Linked DNA regions of Homo sapiens: region 1 is linked to region 2. The links are contacts of gene promoters, found by promoter capture Hi-C in blood cells and fetal thymus (Javierre and others, 2016). All regions are on one chromosome and are shown on one strand. The core of a region is centred on a gene start or on the middle of the fragment in contact, and the rest is flanking DNA. Distances in the headings are between cores, read along the strand shown. Region 1 overlaps C2CD2 (C2 calcium dependent domain containing 2). Region 2 holds the start of UMODL1-AS1 (UMODL1 antisense RNA 1).

Evidence for each region. Contacts are between HindIII fragments. The CHiCAGO score rates a contact against its expected background, and 5 or more counts as called.
Region 1: a contact is called between a fragment that was not itself captured here and the fragment with the promoter of UMODL1-AS1 in region 2, in 9 of 17 cell types (M0 macrophages, naive CD4 T cells, M2 macrophages and 6 more). The highest score is 12.1, in M0 macrophages.

Annotation. Positions count from the first base shown.
Region 1 is chr21:41,882,377-41,887,949 of GRCh38, reverse strand. C2CD2 (C2 calcium dependent domain containing 2) reads left to right here. Exons shown (of 14, transcript NM_015500.2): 14 at 1-2,838. Among named protein-coding and RNA genes, the nearest start is that of PRDM15, 5.8 kb to the right of the region's middle. RefSeq lists an enhancer at 2,306-2,355. The HindIII fragment of the contact is 1,815 bases long and covers 1,688-3,502 here.
Region 2 is chr21:42,106,252-42,111,530 of GRCh38, reverse strand. UMODL1-AS1 (UMODL1 antisense RNA 1) reads left to right here and starts at 2,997. Exons shown (of 2, transcript NR_027243.1): 1 at 2,997-3,235. UMODL1 (uromodulin like 1) reads right to left here. Exons shown (of 23, transcript NM_001004416.3): 10 at 1,832-1,969; 11 at 410-651; 12 at 1-25. RefSeq lists a silencer at 3,458-3,752 and an enhancer at 3,729-3,848. The HindIII fragment of the contact is 14,881 bases long and covers 1-4,144 here.

The DNA.
Region 1 (5,573 bases), core at 1,346-3,845, 220 kb after region 2:
TCAGTTGCCTTTCTATTTCAGTTCATTCACAGATCTCACTTCTGAATGTGCCACTTCCAGTAGACATGCTGGTCAAAGAGCAGTCATCATTGGGGTGAAGTGTTCTTGACAGTTTAATATGATTCACTTTTCTCCAAAGACATGTAAAAGGCTGTTACGAAAGCTTGGCTTCTGTCATGGAGACGGAAATGGGCAAGCTTCCTTCCGTAGCCTCTTGTTAATCCTTAAACATTAAATATTTCGGGGGTAATAGAGCCACTGGTGAGTAAAAACCTATATAAAAACCAAAATTATAGGATTTTTTCTTTTTTAGTAAAAACCGGTATCAAAACCAAAATTATAGGATTTTTTTCTTTTTTAGTAAAAACCTATATAAAAACCAAAATTATAGGATTTTTTCTTTTTTAGTAAAAACCTATATGAAAACCAAAATTATAGGATTTTTTTCTTTTTTAGTAAAAACCTGTATAAAAACCAAAATTATAGGATTTTTTTTTCTTCTTTTTTAGAGAGAGAGATTAGAAAACGACATTAGGAATTTCACTTTAAAATGCGCATTACAAACTTCTTAGGTGTTCCAGGAATTATCAAGTGACTTTAAAATGACTTTTCCAACCTGCTTTGTTTTTAAAAATTATATTCCAGTTTTAATCATTGTAAAAAAAGCACCTGGAGTTTCAAAACATGTGAATACTACCAAGTTTCTGTCCCCAAAGTCAGGCATCACTGTTAGTCTTTTGGGACAGATGGGACAGATGTTCACTTTAATGTTTTACTTGAAGTTTTACTGCTCTTTGCCATGTGGTAAAAAGAGGCTGAGACATATTTAAGAATTCCAAGAGGATATTATGTGTCAGAATTTCAGACACTGATGAGAAGTTTTTAATTGTTCTTTTTTATTTGATTTTGGAATTCAGGTGCACTCTATTCAAGTGCAAGGATATCAGAAGTTTTTTTTTATTTAAAAAATTTTTTTTTCGAGATGGAGTTTCACTCTGTTGCCCAGGCTGGAGTGCAATGGCAGCTTACTGCAACCTCCACCTCCTGGTTCAAGCGATTCTCCTGCCTCAGCCTCCCAAGTAGCTGGGATTACAGGCACGCGCCACCACACCTGGCTAATTCTATTTAGTAGAAATGGAGTCTCACCATGTTGGTCAGGCTGGTCTCGAACTCCTGACCTCAGGTGATCCACCCACCTTGGCCTCCCAGCGTGCTGGGATTATAGGCATGAGCCACCAGGCCGGCCCCAGGATTTTATATTAAGCCTTCTTGCTCTCAAAAAAAAAAAAAGGTTTTAACTATTCCATTTCCAGATGAATCCCATGAGCGCTGCTTACTGTTGAATACCAAGGTCTAGGGCTCTGCTTCCTGTAGACACGCACACGTTGTCTCCATCCAATGGCCTTTTCTGAAGTTACAGAAAACACCAACATGGGAGGGAGTTTATGAAGCAAAGGCAAAGGCAACACGTCGGCTAGCTTCAGGGTAGCACCGTGAGAAATGGGCTGTATTGATACTGTGAATGTTTGTTTTCCAAGCTGTTTTATACAGGTTTGTTTTTTCATGGTGTAGGGTATTTATGACAAAGTAAATGTTGTGAAGGTTAAAGATAAATTAAGATTATCCACCAAATGCTAAAAATACTGATGTGTAAATCACCTTTATCGCCTCACCTCTTCTACAAGCTTTTGTGGCTTGAGGGCTTTTGTTTTTGGCTTTTGTCTGGATGAAAGTTTTGCCCAGTTGTGTTTTAAAAACAATTCCTCATGAACACTAAGATTAATTGTGTCTGTATCTCTGGAACTGGGTGCTCATGTTGGTTTTAATGAGCTTGCAACCCTTCCCCGTTTGCTTTGTTTAAGGAGGTGCCTCTGTTCTTTGTGGAGGAGTGAAATGGAGCTTTAAGTGTGTGTGTGTGTTATGTGTGTTTGCACACACGCGTGTGTTATTGTAGCAATAACAAAAAGTAGCCATCTCCTTGTTCCAGCTGAAAACCTGCTGTGAGAGTTTTGACAGAGCACTTTATTTTCGTCAAGTTTCAAGTCTGAGTTCAAAACCAGCCCTGATCCCTTATGACCAACTGCTACTCGACCAGTCGCCACTCAGTGGCCACCTGGTGCCCGTTTAGATTTTTGCTTGGGTTTTACTGGCCACCTCTATAGACGAGAGTTGCAAAGTTGCTTTGAGCAGAGAGGGAAAGATTAATTTACACTGCTGGCCACCGAAGGCAGGTGTTTCCTGGGTAGTAATCTCACGGCTCTTGATCTGGAAACTTCAGAGTACAAATTGGTGGATGGTGGAAGGCAGGACACGTATCTCTGTCTGACGGAAAACAGACCTCGGGGCTGGCGTAAACCCTGCTGCCAGGCCCTCTCCCCACTGCCCCAAACCGGCCTAGACACGAAGACCAAAGCAGCCTGCACAGGGCAAGGCCCCCGCGGAATCCTGCAGAGCAAACTCAGGTTAACTTGGGTCCATGACCGTTTGCATTCGAAACACAATACACTGCCTCGTTCTCTCAGTTAGCAGCTGGGCAGCAGCGCACCATTCATCATTTAGGCTTGTGGTTTGTTGTTTACTCTACCAATGTTATGTCGAAACTGCATTGTAAAAAGAGAAGAAAGTGGCAGGTTTTCCAGGTCCACGGAAAGGTTTGGCCTGACGCTGGAGTGCGGTGATGAACTTACGTGACAATGATTGTATTCCTCAGTAGCACTTTAAACGCCGAAGACAGCCCTGCAGCAAGCCTGCACACGGGCTTGGGTGGGTTCCTTTGGAGAAGATGTGGCTGGAACACAAACAATCTTTGAAAGAAATAAATGTGCACACAGAACACTACACTGAGTTGTTTTTCCCGAGTCCTGTTCTGTCCTGGAAGTCCCAGGGTCTTCTCTGAGCGCCCCTTTCATCAGGTCATCCTTGGACTTCACTGTCCATTCCCCACCCCGGTGGGTGGCCCGGGTGCATGCAGAGGGGACAGGTACCTGGCTCAGCCACAGGTGGAACAGCGTCGGCACTTGCCTGGGGCTCACGGTGGTTCTGGGAGGGAGGCGGTCGAGTCGGGTCACAGACGTGTCCTGCGGGCCCCATGCAGGCATCGTGCCTTCTTTCTAGTCATCAGTTCCCGTGGTCTCCCTCAGTCTTCATTCCCCCTGCGGTGCCCAGACAGCAGAGCACGTGGAGAGCTGGTGTCCTGGAGAAAGCTACTGGACAGGCCCAGCCTCCTGTCCCCACACTGCCCACCCCTCCTCTCAGCTGTCCCGCCCGCTCGCTAGACACCGTGTAGACCCTTAGAGGGAGCCCGATGCTTCCCAGCTGGGTTCCAGGTTTTCTGCTCCATTTCCTGGGCACCACAAGGTGGTGATGGCAGTGCCTCTTGTTTGGAGTTAGAAGTGGTTCAGGACCCAGTGATTGAACTGTTGCTTCCTCTGTGTGGCCAGAGGGACCCACTTTGTGCTGATGCTCCAGGAGGAGGCTGGATTGAGTTGCTGGAGGCCAAGCTTGTCCTAATTTACCAACTTTCCTAAGCTGATCACCTCCAGATGAGCACTGTTTGCCAATGCGTCTCCACTGCCCAAATTAATCCAACTCAACCACCCTCGGTCATTCTGGAGTGTGCATCCTCGTGCCCAGCAGTTCACACTCACTCTTCGAATGGTCTAACCCAACTCAAGCCCTGCCTTCCCCACGAAGGAGCTTCTCTGCAGGCTGCGGAATTGGCGTGCTTGCAGCGGCACGGTCCAGGCCTCCGGCTCTCAGGCTTCACTGTCCTGCATTGCTCTCATTTCCTGTATCCCCCGGGGCTTCGTACAGTCACTGCCCACCTAGCAGAGCAAGGACAAAGGTCAGCTGATGACCCTTACGTGAGCACAGACAGCAGCTTTGCTTCCACCCACCTCACCCTCCATCGCCCAGGACCTGGTGCTGGGGACTGAGCAGGACACTGGAGGGGATGACCACATGCTGTTTTGACCTTAGCACCCCTACAAAGACAGGGTGATGTGTGTATATGTCAATAAAGTTTATTTTTAAAATGCAGATCACTCACCAAAGGGGGCTAGACACCAGGATGGCTGACATAGCACAGTGATCCCCCTAGAGAGAAAGCTGCCAAGGCCAGGCCCTCCTTCCCAATCATGACCTAGAAACAGCTTTCCTCCACTGGCCTTCCCCAGCTCCACACTGTGACTGTCCACAGTGGAAACTGCGAGTCACGCCCTGCTGTAACAGGCATTCAAAACTAGTTGCCTATGTATTTATAGGTCTATATTAATGTCATCGATATTTATAAAGTTGGACGTGCAGGTACGTTGGGCACCTTAATAGAAGGGTTATCAGCTGGTGATCATCATTGCTGTACCAGGTGAAGCACTGGACTAAGCCCAGGGGATGTATTAATTTATAGTCTAGCTCGGTAGCAAGCATAGCTTTTATATAATAGGCCGGGCGCGGTGGCTCACGCCTGTAATTCCAGCACTTTGGGAGGCCAAGGCGGGCGGAACACCTGAGGTCAGGAGTTCAAGACCAGTCTGGCCAACACGGTGAAACCCTGTCTCTACCAAAAATACAAAAATTAGCTGGGCCTGGTGGCGCATGCCTGTAATCCCAGCTACTTGGGAGGCTGAGGCAGGAGAATCGCTTGAACCTGGGAGGCGGAGGTTGCAGTGAGCTGAGATCACACACTCCAGCCTGGACAACAGAGTGAGACTCCATCTCAATAAAATAAATAAAGTTAGAGAAAGACTTGAGATCACAACAATAGCTAATAATAATTGCACACTCAATATGTGCCAAGAATTTTTCAAATAGTTTTATATGTAGTGACTCATATACTCTCTGAAACAACTCCATGGGGCATGATCTATTTCAGCTTTACAGGTTAAGAAACTGAGGCACAGAGAGGTTAAGTAACTTGCCCAAGCTGACAGCTGGCTAGACCAGAATTTGAGCACTGGCTGTTTGCCTGGAGAACCTCTGCTCACAGCCGTGAGTCTCTGGCTCTGCCTGTGTCGATTGGAGAGATTAAGGACTATGGTCCTATATGTTTTTTTGTTTTGTTTTGTTTTGAGAAGGAGTCTCGCTCTCGTCATCCAGGCTGGAGTGTAATGGCGTGATCTCGACTCACTGCAACCTCCGCCTCCCAGGTTCAAGTGATTCTCCTGCCTCAGCCTCCCGAGTAGCTGGGATTACAGGCACCCGCCACCATGCCCGGCTAATTTTTGTATTTTTAGTAGAGATGGGGTTTCACCACATTGGCCAGGCTGGTCTCAAACTCCTGACCTCAAATGATCCACCAGCCTTGGCCTCTCAAAGTGCTGGAATTACAGGCGTGAGCCACCGCACCTGGCCAAAAATTTTTAACAATTTTATATGTAAAAAAACTGGTGTAGCGGTGTCAGGCATATGATACATTTCATTTGTTGAGTTAAACAAATGTTTAAAAACCACCAAAGACTAGCATGAGGAAAAGGCTGGTCTCCTTCCCTGGAACCAGGATAAATCACTGAGGAAGTCAGAGGCAGGGCCAAGACTAAAATTCAAGTCACACAACAGCACTCCATGGAAAATCTACA
Region 2 (5,279 bases), core at 1,748-4,247:
GCTCCATGATGGAGTTTCCCTGTAGCTGTCCAGGGAGGGCCAGTGGGCCATCTGTGGCCCCAGGAGGGAAGCTGTGGGTTGACCCAGTAGCCTTCGGGGAGGAGGTGGTGCCTATCACCCCGATAGTGTTCCTATGGCTGGGGCTCGCCTGGCTGGTGCTCCCCTGGCTGGGGCTCTCCTGGCTGGGGCTCCCCTGGCTGGGGCTCCCCTGGCTGGAGTTCGCGTGGCTGGTGCTCCGCTGGCTGGGGTTCACCTGGCTGGGGCTCCCCTGGCTGGTGCTCCTCTGGCTGGGGCTCGCCTGGCTGGTACTCTCCTGTCTGAGGCTCCCCTGGCTGGGGCTCCCCTGGCTGGGGTTCACCTGGCTGGGGCTCCCCTGGTCCATCCCCAGACCCGGGGCAGTGCTGGGCACCTCCTGCTCCACGCCTTTTCCTGTGTTGTTCCTGTCATACCCGACCACATTGCTGCCCCCTCTTCTGGGTGAGGGCTCTGGGGTCCAGGCCTGGCCTGCTGCCGGGGTGCCCTGAGGGTACCCAGGACTGGGTGACAAGGTGAAGTTCTCTAGGCCGAGGGCTGCTGTTCCCGTGCCAAGACCTGGGACCGTTACCCCTGTTGCCGCAGACAGTCCACCGCCCATGGGGCTCACCAGGTCACCTGCCAAGACACATCCACTGTCAGAGCCTGCTGGATCCCACCCACGAGTAAGAGCCCTCCCAGGAGGGCAGCATGGCCGTCCAGCAGGACTGCTCTGCATCCCGGAGTGGACCTGGCCAGGGACGCAGGCGGGCGCCAGCGTTCAGGAGTGTTTCCTGGGCCCATGTTTGCAGCCTCCCCGGGGCTCTCTGAAGGCAAATCACGCCTCTCCACTGGATAAATGAGGAAACTGAAGTTGAGGGTGAGGGATCCACCCGGGGGGCTACAAAACCCGGGCTTGAATGCAGGGCTTGGTTCTCATAGGCCTCAGATTAATCCATCAGGACTCTGGGAAAATGGGACAATTTCCCCCAGATTTGTGCTCAATGTGGGACTTGGTGCTGGATGCTGTCATCGACTTGCAGGACATTAGGCGAATGAGAAAAACAGAAGACAAGGTGTGGGATGTTAGGAAGCAGGACAGCACACGCAGTGTCTAAGGAATATTCTCCCCAGGGAACTGGTCTCGGCTGCTCCTTCCAGCTAGAAAGCCCTCAGCAGGGGCTGGCAAGCCAGTGGCTGGGCGCCTCTGCCACGCCTGTGTCCGGGCCGACATTGCTAATCAGTCACTGCATTTTAGGTCCCTACGTGGCCTCCTCCTGCTGCTCAATTCAGCATCCCAGGTATCCCCGACCCACTCATCAGAACTGGTCCACAGAAAAGACTGGGGGCCGATACAGCAGGACTAGAGCTCAGCGGCCCCCATCGGGCCTCTCTGCAGCTTCTCTGGGCTTCCACACTGTCTCGGGCTCCAGGCCACACCCTCTCGGGCTCCAGGCCACTGGGGAAGGAATCCCTCGACCCCGGGCTGCATCCTGACTTCTGTGGGCCCAAGGAACTTGGCCTTCATGGACCCCTGCACCCCTCCACTTAACAATCTATCAAAAATTACATTTTATAATGGCATTTAGATAGAGATGAGTGTAATCCAAGCTAGATTCATTGTTTTATGTATATTTACTATCCTTCTATTAATTTCTTTCTTCTGATTTTAAAATAAATTGAAATGAAAACATTTCTGTAGGCCCCTAACATTACCATAGGTCCTCAGCCCTGTGCCTATGGAGAATTGGGCTTTGCCCCACCCCCAGATTCTCGGGCAGGGGGTCTTCCCAGAGTCGGCAGGGGGGTCGACACGTACCCTCACAGGCCCGGCCTGCGCGGGAGGGGGTGGCGTCCCTGGTGGTACGGCACTGGCAGGTGTAGGAGCCCTCCAGGTTGATGCACCAGGCAGCCGGTGAGCAGTCGTGTTCCGCGCTGTCCACACACTCGTCCCAGTCTGCCAGGGGGAGACACAATCAAAACCCATGAGAAAACAGCCAAAGAGTGATCAGAAGACAGACCCATGCTGGAAGGAGTCCTTCCTAGCCGTCTTTGCAGTGAACGGCCGGGAGCAGGGGCATTTTGGGGCATCCGTCCAACACTCTCATGACAACCTTACGGCCTGCCTGTGCCCACCTTCACATTGGTTGGCTTATTTGGGGGCAAAGATTAGGAAATGTTCATTCCTTAAATATTAGCACCCATGGGTGTGCATGTAGCCCTCTCTTCTTTATTCTGTTTCCACACCCAAAACTTGAAATGTTTTCTCCTCTCTCTTTGATGTGCCAACATTCTCCAATACTTAGTGTCTCAACCAAGAAATAGGAAAGTAACTGAGCCAGGGGTGGGGACACAGCTGAGTATAACGTGAACTTTCCGCATGGGGGGTGGGGGTCCAGCGGAGTATAACACCAGCTTTCCACGCCGGGGGTGGGGGTCCAGCGGAGTATAACACCAGCTTTCCACGCCGGGGGTGGGGGCCAGTGGAGTATAACATGAGCTTTCCACACCGGGGGTGGGGGTCCAGCTGAGCATAACACCAGCTTTACATGCCAGGAGTGGGGGTCAGCCTGAGTATAACATGGACTTCTCTCGTGGGGGGGGTGGGGGTCAGCCTGAGTACAACATGAACTTCCCACGCCGGGGGTGGGGTCCAGCGGAGTACAACATGAACTTCCCGCGCCATATTCTAGAGCACCCGGGTGTCTCCACAGGTATGTCCCTCCTCCTGTGCCCAAAGACTTGTGATGTCATGTCACCGGGGGGCCCGCCTGAGGGGAATGAAGGTGAGGACAAGGACAATGTAGCTCCCATGGGGTGGCTGAGCCGAGGTCGTCAGGGCCAGGCCCTGCTGGAGGTGACAGTGCCTTCTGCGCGTGCTTCTGTAGAGCTGCGGGTGGAGGTGCTCGGGAACGAACCCACACCCGGCATGCCAGAGAAGTTCCAATTCAGGTGGAATTTAAGCCACGATGCAGGACCAGTTCAGTTCTGGGCAAAGAAAACCCTGCTGCTGAGTGCTCTGAGGCTCGTTTTGTGGGTTTTTTTCTGTTGTGCTTCCTGCGGTCTCCACAGAAGCAGCTTCCCTGGAGAACAGCAAGCTCGTCAGCTGCCACAACAGCTATGCCACCACCCTAGCATGGCCTGGGGGCTGCCTTGCCATCAGAACACTGCTGGTGCCAACCCACACCTCTTCCTGGGGTGCTACTCAACCTCCAGCCTACAGGTAACTCTCCTGGGGGTGCTCCGGGTTGGGGTTGGAGCCTAGGCTGGCTGGGCTGCAGTCCACGGAGGACAGCAGAGGCACCAGGCAAGACGCTGGCTCAAACCACCAAGCACCTGATGTCTATTTTGGGGCGTGGTGATTCACCTAATCTTCACTCCTCCGTCCCCCCAGACAGCTCCCAAGCGAGCTCAGAGGAAGGCGCTGACAGCTGTATTTAGTCTTGCATTAAGCCTTGAGGCTTGCCGGCCCTCCAGTTCAGAGGAAGAGGCAGGTGTGGGAGCAGGAAGAGCTGCCAGTGAGCCTCTGCACCCTCCCGGGCTGGCCAGGCGAGGGCGCAGAGCCAGCGAGAGCCCAGGGCAGGACGCTGCACACTGCTCCCACTGGCCCCGCAGCTGGGACAAGGGCTGAGCCCTCTCCTGGAGCAATGGGGGCAGCTGCTTCAGAGACTCCCAGCCCAGGTGCCCCTCCTGAGCTGGCCCCACCCAGAACAACAAGCTGGAGAGGGTCCAGGAGCAGGTACAGACCCCAGATCTCCTGGGCCACCCTGTCCCAGCAAGGTGCAGGCTCCTCAGTTGGACCATGAGCTGTCTTTCAGGGCCCAGGGCGTCCTCCAGAAGTGATGCCCCTCGGACTCTCCTGGGGGCGTGTGTCAGATTCACACTGGGAGAAAGAGGGCACAGAGCACCTCATCCTAATGCCACCGCAAATGGACGCTGGACAAATAGCGGTACCCGTGAACCTAAGGAAAGGAAGCAGCCTGCAGTAGGTTAGCCTGGCCAGCAGGTGAGGGGGATGGTGACAGCCCTAGGCCAGGATCCTCACTCACGGCCCTTCTCTCACTCTGCAGAGGGGATGGAAAGGGCTCGCGCAGTGGCGAGGCGGGTGGGAGCAGGCAGCAAACTGGAAGCTTTGGGGAGCTCAGCTCCACCTACTCTGGCCCCAGGAAAAGCGGCGTTGATTCCAGAGCCCCAGAAGACCCACAAGGCCTCTTACGCAGAAGGATGCCGGTGGGAGTCCTGCTCCTCTGGCTAAGGTCGGTGCAGAGGGTTCACAGCGGTGCCTCATAGAAGCCCAGTGATGACCCTCACTCTAGAACAAATGCACACTGTATGAGAATCTCTCCTGAGAGCAGATGTTGGGAAAGAGAAGGAATAGGGGCCGTGCTGTTAGGAGCAAGAGATTGAATGGAAATGATGTGAGGGGTTCAAAAAGGAGCCCCGTGAGGCGGAAGGACCAGTGGGAACCCAGGGGTTGCTAGGAGACCTTCCTAGATGAGCTCTCATCCAAGATATGAAAGTTAATCCTGGAAGAGTTAGCCCTGAACGCTGGAGGGGCCATCAGAAATGCACTGTCGCCATGCACAGGCACTGGGCTAAACCCACACAGGCATTGTGCCTTAATTTACTCCATCGCCATAGGAGGTGGGATGTTGCTGTAATCTCATTCCACAGATGAGTATACTGAGGCCCAGGGAGAGGAAGTCATTTGTGCAGCATCCCACAGTGAGTGAGTGTCAGAGCTGGGATTCCAACCCGTTCCGCCTCACTCTAACCTCTTCCTATGGGGCAAAGTGAGCAGGAGGTTTGGCCGCCGCTGTGAGGGTGCAACTCATAGGCGCGGGGGGCGGCTCAGCCTCCAGGCCTCCCAGCACATGGTACGTACCTCCTGGGGAAAGACCGAACACATGGCCACCTACACAGCCCACCGTGACTGGCGCAGGAAACCCCAGGCCCCGGGATGGACGGCCTAAGGGTAAAGATAAGGTCACGACAACCTGACCCCTCCACGGGCGAACAGCGCCTCATCTATCGGGGTTGGGACATGTGGACGCACCGGCAGGGAGTGCTCCTGAATGACTGAGGAATGCTCTAGTTGTGCCAACAACATTATTTCTAGGTGGACCACAGCGCAAATACCTTTTCTTCTTCAGAGGAGCTCTTTTTGTGTTTTCGTTTCTTGTTTTTTTTGCCGAGTAATATCAAATGTCTTCTTCTACAGATCCTCGCCGTGAAGGTGGGGCTCTCAGCGGGGGTGGATGTCCCCC